Regions from separate parts of the Homo sapiens genome. Here region 2 is linked to region 1. Evidence: promoter capture Hi-C in human tissues and cell types (Jung and others, 2019). All regions are on one chromosome and are shown on one strand. The core of a region is centred on a gene start or on the middle of the fragment in contact, and the rest is flanking DNA. Distances in the headings are between cores, read along the strand shown. Region 1 holds the start of TLR3 (toll like receptor 3). Region 2 overlaps SORBS2 (sorbin and SH3 domain containing 2).

Region 1 (4,489 bases), core at 1,792-4,291:
TCCTCCAGAAGCAGAGGCTGCTATGCTGCCTGCACCACTTGCAGAACCATCAGCCAATTGAACCTCTTTCTTTATAAATGACCAGTCTCAGGTATTTCTGTAGAGCAATGTGAGAATGCACTCATACAATAGCTTTCCATGGGCATTTAGTCAGCTCAGGAAAGCCACTCAACTCCATACATTGTCACACTTTATTTTGGTGGGATGTGTACCCAGTGTGATACTCTGTGGTGTGATCAACAACCAAATTTCAGATATTTTAAAAAATCAAATACACCCACAAGGTATGGAGATGAAGCAGTGGTAATGATATCTAAATAGATATTCCACAAGATCTAAAAGTCATGACATGAAAATTATTCCAGGTAAGTGTCAGGTAATAAAATCACCTTAGGTGACTAATCCTAGGAAAACAGAACTAATGTGAGTATATAGAATTGTTCTAATATACTTAAAAATAGCGATTTTACTAATATTCTAATTTAGTTCTCAGAAACAGAAAAAACAACAAAAAAAACTGGCTTCCATAAACTAATATTCCCATCTCATGGCCTTTACAACTCTGGCACTAATCATTGTAAAGCTGTGCACATTCTTTATATCCACAGGCCATGAGGAATGCCACAGCTAGGCCAGCAAGGATGCATTTGCTGACTTGCCCAGGCACGTGAAGGATGCAGGGCTGGCAATGATACCTCTCAAATGCTGGGGACCAGCTCCCCACCTGCCCCCTCTCTGAGAGTGTCCCAAACCTCTCTTCCAGTTCCTTCAGAACTTCCTATCTCTATTTACCAACTCATAGGTAAGGTCCCTACAATACATTCTCCTTGCTTAGGTGAGATGTACCCCTCTGGTAGGGCTCCTGCTATAGGTCAGAATTGCTGAGAAGGACTAATCCATTACAAAGCATATCCCTGAATGACTTAAGGACTTGCCCCATCTGAAGACATTTCATCAGTGGGCAAAACTCACCAAATGCTAGGCAGGAGGAGTGAAAGAGGAACAAACTTGGAGAGACTCCTATGAAATTTCAGAATTGCAACCATGCACACAAAAATCCTAAAACCTTCATTTCCAAAGAAAAGAGATCTTGATTAATAAAAAACTTTTCATCAGTAACATGAACCACTGGAAAACAATAGAGATAAGCTTTCCAAACATTTAGAGAAAATTATTTTGAATTTAAAATTTCATATCCAGGCAAAGCATAGTGGCTCATCCCCACAATCCCGGCACTTTAGAAGGTGTAGGCAGAAGGAGATCAGGAGCTCAACACCAGCCTGGGCAACATAGTGAGACCCCGTATCTACAAAAATATTTTAGAAAGTAGCCAAGTGTGGTGGCACAAGCCTGTAGTTCCAGCTACTTGGGAGGCTGAGGCAGGAGGATCGCTTGAGCCCAGGAGGTTAAGGCTGCAATGAATCATGATCACACCACTGCACTCCAGCCTGGGCAACAGAGCAAGACCTTACCTCTAAAAAACAAGAAAATTACCTTTGACCAGGCCAAGAAAATTACCTGTGGCTCATGCCTGTAATCCCATCACTTTAGGAAGCTGAGGCTGGAGGATCCCTTGAGCCTAGGAGTTTGGGACCAGCCTGGGCAACACAGGGAAACCTCATCTCCACCAAAATTTTTTTTTAAATTAGCTGGCCATAGTGGTTCACACCTGTGGTCCCAGCTACTCGTGACACTGAGGTGTGAGAATTGCTTGAGCCAGGGAGGTCAAGGCTGCAGTGAGCCACGATCATGCCACTGTACTTCAGCCTGGGCAACACAGCGAGACCTTGTCTCTAAATCGATAAATGAAATAAAATGAAATAAAATAAAATAAAATAAGATAGGGAAATTTCACATCCATCTGAATAACTAAATAAAAAGGTATAAGTATTTTGAGATATGCAAAAATTCAGTAAGTTTATAGCCATACGATCTGTATGAAAAGGTTATTCTAGGACATGCTTCAGTAAAACAAGCAAAAATGCAGTTAAAGGATGAAATGAGAGTGAAGAAAACGTTGCTGTTGAATGAGATCTAGCAGAAATAAAGAAAATGAAAAAAAATTAAAAAGAGACTCACTCAGCCTTAGAATTTTGGAAATATTTTGTGAGGGCACATGGAATTCACATTCTTTGTCCAAGTGAGAGACAATATTGCCTGATGGTTAGGACATGGGGTCTGGAGGCAGACTACCTGGAGTTAACCACTATCCATAGTTTGATTTGTAAACTTTGCAACCTTTGTAGTAGGTTCATACACAGGCACGCCCATATGAAGACACATACCAGCACGTAATCATCTGTAAACCTGGGAATCAACTTGCTGAAGCCAACTCCATTTTTACCCGAGTACCCCACAATTGCCGATACCAGTTTCTGATCTTCCCATACACCTTAACAACTTTCCACTTCTCCACTTCTTCCATTATCCTTCATTAGGTGAAAGAAAGCCATTTACTTACTCCTAGGCATACCTGAATGTTCTCTCCTATCTAAGACATTGTCATACAATGCCAGCTCCTGTCTCCCCTCCAGCCAATAAAACTAACAAAAGGGGATACGCTCTTTTAACCTCTTGGAGTTTTGTTTCTTTAAGGCAAAGATGTGATTTGCTAAAAAGACTGTTGCAAAATGATTTCCATAGCTTCCCTAATGTGTTTTTTCCAGGTACAGAATGCTACAGAGAAAAAAATTAAATACTGCATAAATACATTATCACATTAACTAGATATTGGTGCTATTACTTGTGTTCTGAGTTATACCCTTCTCCCATGCCCATATCATATCCCTTTTCTTCCACTTTCCTTCCTGAATAATTCTGACTAGATTTCAAGCACCAGATCAAAGAAAGACCAAAGAAGGCTAAAACCACATGCATTCTGCTAGCAAACTCTACTCAGCAAGAGAGACCCTGCCCAGTAAGAACGTGAAATGAACACCTTCACTTACTTGGATGACTGCTAGCCTTTCCTTTTTTCTTTAGTCCAAATCCAGACATTTCATCAGGGAAGTGTGTGGCAAATAGACGGCACTCTCGAAAGTGAAAGTAAAGCTTGAAAAAAAATGCTTTTATGTTTGGTGCATTCCAAGAAGGGCAAAGGGAGAAAACAAAAACAATCTCTGACAACCTCAGAGAGGCGTTTCAAACCGCCTCTGAAAAACACCTAGTTTTTATTTTATTTTAACTTTTTTTAAGCTGAGATCCTTGGATTTCATTGAAAGGGTCACAGATTTAGCAACAGCTAAAGTTGAAAGTGGGGACCTCACCATTTGATGTGGGCGGGTCTGGACCTCTGCAAGTTAAGGAATAACAGTGAATCCCTCAATTTTCTGCTAGACTCATGCGAAGCTGTCAGAATTGAGTAGTGTATGGTCACAGGGACAGAAAAAAAAATCCCTAATCAAAGCTGAAGTACTTTCCCTTCTTTCGTCTGGCTTTTATCTCTTTGCAACACTGTAAAATAACACCGGCAGAAATTAACCTCTTGATCCAGGAAGAAACTGAGTTTCACAGCAGAGAAAGAGCCAAACATGGCAAAGCTGAGAGCCAGTCCCACTCCTGCTGATCCACTTTTCCACGGTCAGACGCGTTAGGGAACAGATCAGTATGCCCAGAAAAGTTCAGATTAACTAAGAATTTCGTTCTTAATTTGCTTTAATGACTCCAACTAGTTAAGTAAATGTACTTGTTAAGAAATGAACTCACTTTTTTTCATTACAGATGTGCTATGATCTATTATAACTATATTGTTATATAGTGAAATATCACAATTGGAAGGAACTATAGACCACCTAATCTAACTCCCTTGTTTGAGAAATTAGGAAAACGAAACCTAGGGAGGTGAGTGGTTTGCCTAAGAACATGCCACAAGCCACCATATGCTTCAATCACACAAGTCATAAAACAACTGGACGGCTGGGACATGGCATTAGCTTGAACTCATTGCAGAGCTGATGGCAAGAAACAAGCGTGCATCATGGTGCAAAGTGCCCTCTTGTGGGCTCCAGCTTCAGCTAGACCGCTTTATAGTTACTGGGCTCAGGGCTACATGTCTCTGATTTTCATTTGTGACATCTGTAACATAACACCATAAGCAAACAGATGTCCTGAGTACGTGACTGTCCCTCACATCTATCCATTGGGATGTCCAGGAAAACTTCACTAATATTCAAAAGATTTCTTCTCTGTGAGCGCCTTGAAGGCAGGGTGAGGTTTATTCTTTGCATTATAGCTCCCCAGCAACCCTCTGAGGTAGACTGTTTCTTTGGCCTTCAATGAAAGAGACTCGTCCTCAGAATTCAAACCCTTGTGTGGCCTTCTCCCACGCTGACTCTAGGCTTGGCCATTTGACTAGCTTTGACCAGTGGGATATTAGCAAGCATGCAACAAGGTCTCATTGCCAAACACGATTACCCAGGCTTGAGAAGCAAGCAAATAAATGATTGTTGTTTTAAATTTAAAAAAATTGGAATGGTGTCATATGCATTAT
Region 2 (4,432 bases), core at 354-2,853, 350 kb after region 1:
TACTCCACCATCTGTGGAGTAAAGAAGCAAATGTGAGCCCAGAAGAATTCATCCTTCAAACCAAGATTTAGTAGACGCCCTTAAAAAAAACTCATTTATACAAGAGAAAACCTGATTCGTGAATTCATTTGAATGAGGGACCAAGGCAAGAAGGGGCCCCGTATCTGAAATATTTCAACCGCTAGTCACACCTGTCGGTGCCAAGGCAACATCCCCTGTTTAATAGCAGCAGGAGTCACATTTTTGGCAGTACCTGCCAGACTCACTTCTAAGTGCTTCGTGTATACGCATCCACTGGGTCCTTCAGCCACCCCAGGAGGTTGGCACCGTTGTTATCCCTGTTTCTAGAGGAGGAAATGTGGGCAGGTTCAGAGAGAGGATAAGTCACTTTCTGAAGTGATCCATCTGGATATGGTAGAATGGGCTTTTCACAAAGCTGGCTTGGCTCCAGCATCTACACTCTTGACTACCTCGCCAGCCTGCCCCAGCAGCAGGTGTTACGGGAGACCACGCCCATCTCTGTCTGGGAGTTGAGCAGCAGGTGATGCCACAGTTCTTAAAAGTAGCCCATAATCAGGATCATAAGCCTTCGTTATGAAATACTTTTTCTATGAAATCCTCTGATGATATAGGAACTGTCTATTTCTATTTATTAGAAGAGGAAGAGGACTACTTTCTCTTAGGTCTCTGACTGTGTGGCTTGCCATAGAAAAAGATGTTACTTCTAATCTCTCTCCAGCAGTCACATTGTAGGACATGGCACAGTGGGCATGACTGTTAAGAATAGCCTTCCTTTCAGAATATTCTGTTACACATTCCAGCAACATTTATTAAGCACTTAAGATTTATTATTTATCTATTGAGCATTTAGTAGTTTTCACTCTTTTTTTATGACCTCTGTCTTTAAGCCACTTGTAGTCGAGGGAGGAAAACATGGATGGAGCTGTCACTCCTGCATATTTCTAAAGGATTTAGATTCTGTCTACATTTTTGGTCTGTTGTATTTCAAGTTGTTGAGTTCCAGAAATGTTCTACTCGCTACATAAAGTACTTTTTAATCTATTTCTATCAAAAACAATTTTGAAATATAATGGAGTGTCTTTTAATCCTGGTAAGTTAGGGCTTAGGGAAAAATAGAGTTAACTTTACCAGTTTTTTTCTGATTTTAAATTTTCAGTCTCATGTTTCTTTAGTCTTAATTATTCTAGGTTAAATTATTTCTTTTTATTTTTTAAACTAAATATTTATTTTATTTTTTATTTCGTGTCTGTTCCTTTGGCCTTTTCATAGGGCTTTTCTCAACTTTACTATCTCCTTGGGGTACAGGAGTGGTGTTTCTTGGAGAGAAAAGCTATAAATTGCTGGAGACTAAATTAATATCAAAATAGAAGGAATTTTGTTACATCATCTCTTTTTCGCCTTATTGCCTGGCATAATCCCATTTTATGCCTGTTACATCAGCATAAATACTGATAACTTCTACTTTTAGTCTTAACATCACTCTTTCAGTTTAGGCAACTTATTTAGTCATGCTATCCAAAAGCAGAATAAAGCTAATGATTAAGTAAATTTATTCTTTGCAAACAAATTCATGGAGATTAATGAGAAAATGTTGATATTTTTAAAAAATCTGTCGTGAAAAATGCCATGGTAAAGTGGTCTTCTTTTTAATGATTTACAAGCCTTTAACTTATAACCCAAAACACAGTTGCTTATTTCTTTATAGACTCATGTGTTCTGAAGATAAGTGAAACTTTTAAATGATTTGAGAGGTTTAGGTAGCATGCCTGTTGATATGGTTTGGCTCTGTGGCCCCACCCAAATCTCACCTTGAATTGTAATAATCCCCATGTGTCAAGGGTGGGGCCAGGTGGAGATAATTGGATCATGGGGGTGGTTTCCCTCAAGCTGTTCTCGTGGTAGTGAATACATCTACGAGATCTGACGGTTTTATAAAGGAGAGTTCCCCTGCACATGCTCTCTTGTCTGCCACCATGGAAGACATGACTTTGCTCCTCCTTTGCCTTCTGCCATGACGGTGAGGCCTCCCCAGCCATGTGGAGCTGTGAGTCCATTAAACCTCTTTCCTTTATAAATTACCCAGTCTCAGGTATGTCTTTATTAGCAGTGCGAGAACAGATTAATACACCTGTATACCTAATTGCTGTTGTGAAACACATTTCTGCACAAATTTTAGGTTATAGGTTTTCTGTGTTGATGAGGTGAAAAAAAAAAGCCTAAACTAAATTTAAGTGAAGTTATATAAACATTACATCTGCCATTATTCTACTTAATGCCACCTAAGTGTATCCATGAAACTCAGTATATAAACCTGGTATAGACCAAGTGTAGGGTCAGAGGCTGGCTGAGGGAGCAATGGGATGACGTGAAGCTGAAAGCAAGACACTGCTGCAAAATATCCTACACTCTAGCCTGCTGACTCCTCCCATTATTTGAGATACTCCTTTAGAAAGAATGGAAGAAAATCTGTTAAAATGCAAATGTATTATTTTGATAAAGCAATGCCTCATCATTCATAATTTTAACAAAACCCAAGGAAATTAAATGTAAGATAGAAAATCAACCATATATCCACTTAAATAATGAAGGTTATGTTATCACCAGGAAAGTAATTTTTTCATTATACTTAAGGATAGGTGGGTAGCTGTTCCATCCCATTTCTAGAATTGAAGTTTAAGATCCTGTGTAGTGGTGGTGATTCCATATTTCACAGAATTGCCTCAGCACTGTTTGAAATCAATGCTAATGGTCAGAGTCCAAAGTCAGATTGTGATGTTTGTCTAGTTTCACACAAAACGACAAAGGCAAATAATGGTGTGCAGTATGAACATATGGCAATATTAATGTGTACCAGGCTGCAATATCATGACAGTGGGAAACTAAATGATAGTAATGATTAAATTATAGTAATGATTACAGATTCTACTCACTAAATTATAAAGCACCGATTTGTTTCACTCTGACTTTCTCTTGCACCCTTTTCCACAGCAGCAATATTTCTGCATTTGCCTAAGTGGTGAAGCTGACTACCTCTTTGCATTTGCTAAAGGAAAAAAGTATATATTGTTTTCAGCAACTTGTAATACTCATCCCTTCCCCTAACTACCCTGTGTAGAGCCACACGATGCCAGTACGTGGACTGAACGTCCTTATAGGTTCCACCCCATGATTAAATTTCCTGCCTCTGAATCACGTTCTCCTGATGAAAGTCTCTGCTCTTCTGAGCTAATCCTTGTGGTGGGAAAGAGATAAAAAGCAAACACGTAAGATGAGAGGTGATAAGAAGTGTTCTGCAGAAAAACTTTTAAAAGACAAAGGAAACATGGAGGACTGCATTTTATATGGGGCAGTTAGGAAAGGTCTCTGATACAGAGGTGCTGGAGCATAAATCTGAAGAACTCAAGGAGAGACCTGGGGCTCCAGGGAGAGGACAGTGTGGGCTTGGAGTGTCCAAGGCTTAACGAGGTAGCCAGCCTCATTAGAGGCTGGAGGACAAAGAGGAAGAGTGGTAGCCATGAGCTAGAGGTGCAGTGAGGGCCCAGGACACAGAGGATGCTGCCGGCCAGCAAAGGAGGGGAGATGGGAGGTGACTGGAGGGCTTTGAATAGGAGAATGCCTGATGTCTCTCAGATGTTTGAGCATCACTCTGGATACTTTGGGAACAGTGGAACGCAGGTGATGTCAATGGAGGAAGGGAGAAAAACCATAAGGTTACTGGAAAGCTAGACTAAGGTGTTAGGTGGTAAACAGAAGGTGGTGATGAGAGGTGTGCAGGTTCTGGAGAGATTTTAAAGAGACAGTAGCGATGCAGGATATTCCCCTGACCCCTTCACGGCACTTGCGAGGGGGGTGCCTCATTTACTCAGCCTGCCCCTCTCAACTCCTCACAGGAGGGAGTGCACCAGCAAGCAGAGTGGAAGCTGGCGTGCATGAGCGCTGGAACCCGCTGGCCGCTTTGGCACTGGCAGGAGCGAACTCCATGCAGTCCCCGTTCGAGCATCCAGGTGGGGGTGCCTGTGACTCCCAAAGCCCCAGAGGGCGTGTTGCAGTGCTGTTCTAGCTCTGCTGTCCACGGGCGGCTTAAGTGTTAACAGCTTAGTGGGCCCTCTGCCTTTTCGCATGAGGCAGCTACCCCCGCCAGCGAGGGCAAAGGCCAGTGTGACAGCCTTTTATATTTGCACTGGTGGCTTCTGAGCTCTTGCCTGGCATCCAGGAAAAATGAGGTTGCACAAACAAATTGAAGGATGATAAATGTGGGGGATTTTATTGCCGATAAAGTGGCTCTCAGTGGGAAGGGGAGCTGAACAGGGGATGGGCAGGTAGGTAGTCTTCCCCTTGAATCCAGCTGTCTCTGGCTGGATTCTTCTCCGAAGTTACGCCGTCAAGCTGTCCCTCCAAAGTCAAGCTGCTT

Evidence for each region. Contacts are between HindIII fragments. The study calls those that stand out against the background at their distance.
Region 2: a fragment that was not itself captured here is called in contact with the fragment with the promoter of TLR3 in region 1 in 1 of the 25 tissues and cell types used here (mesenchymal stem cells).

Annotation. Positions count from the first base shown.
Region 1 is chr4:186,067,708-186,072,196 of GRCh38, reverse strand. TLR3 (toll like receptor 3) reads right to left here and starts at 3,041. Exons shown (of 5, transcript NM_003265.3): 1 at 2,949-3,041. The HindIII fragment of the contact is 6,210 bases long and covers 1-4,489 here.
Region 2 is chr4:185,712,257-185,716,688 of GRCh38, reverse strand. The region is part of intron 3 of SORBS2 (sorbin and SH3 domain containing 2); the gene reads left to right. Among named protein-coding and RNA genes, the nearest start is that of SORBS2, 98 kb to the left of the region's middle. RefSeq lists an enhancer at 4,037-4,432. The HindIII fragment of the contact is 5,882 bases long and covers 1-4,432 here.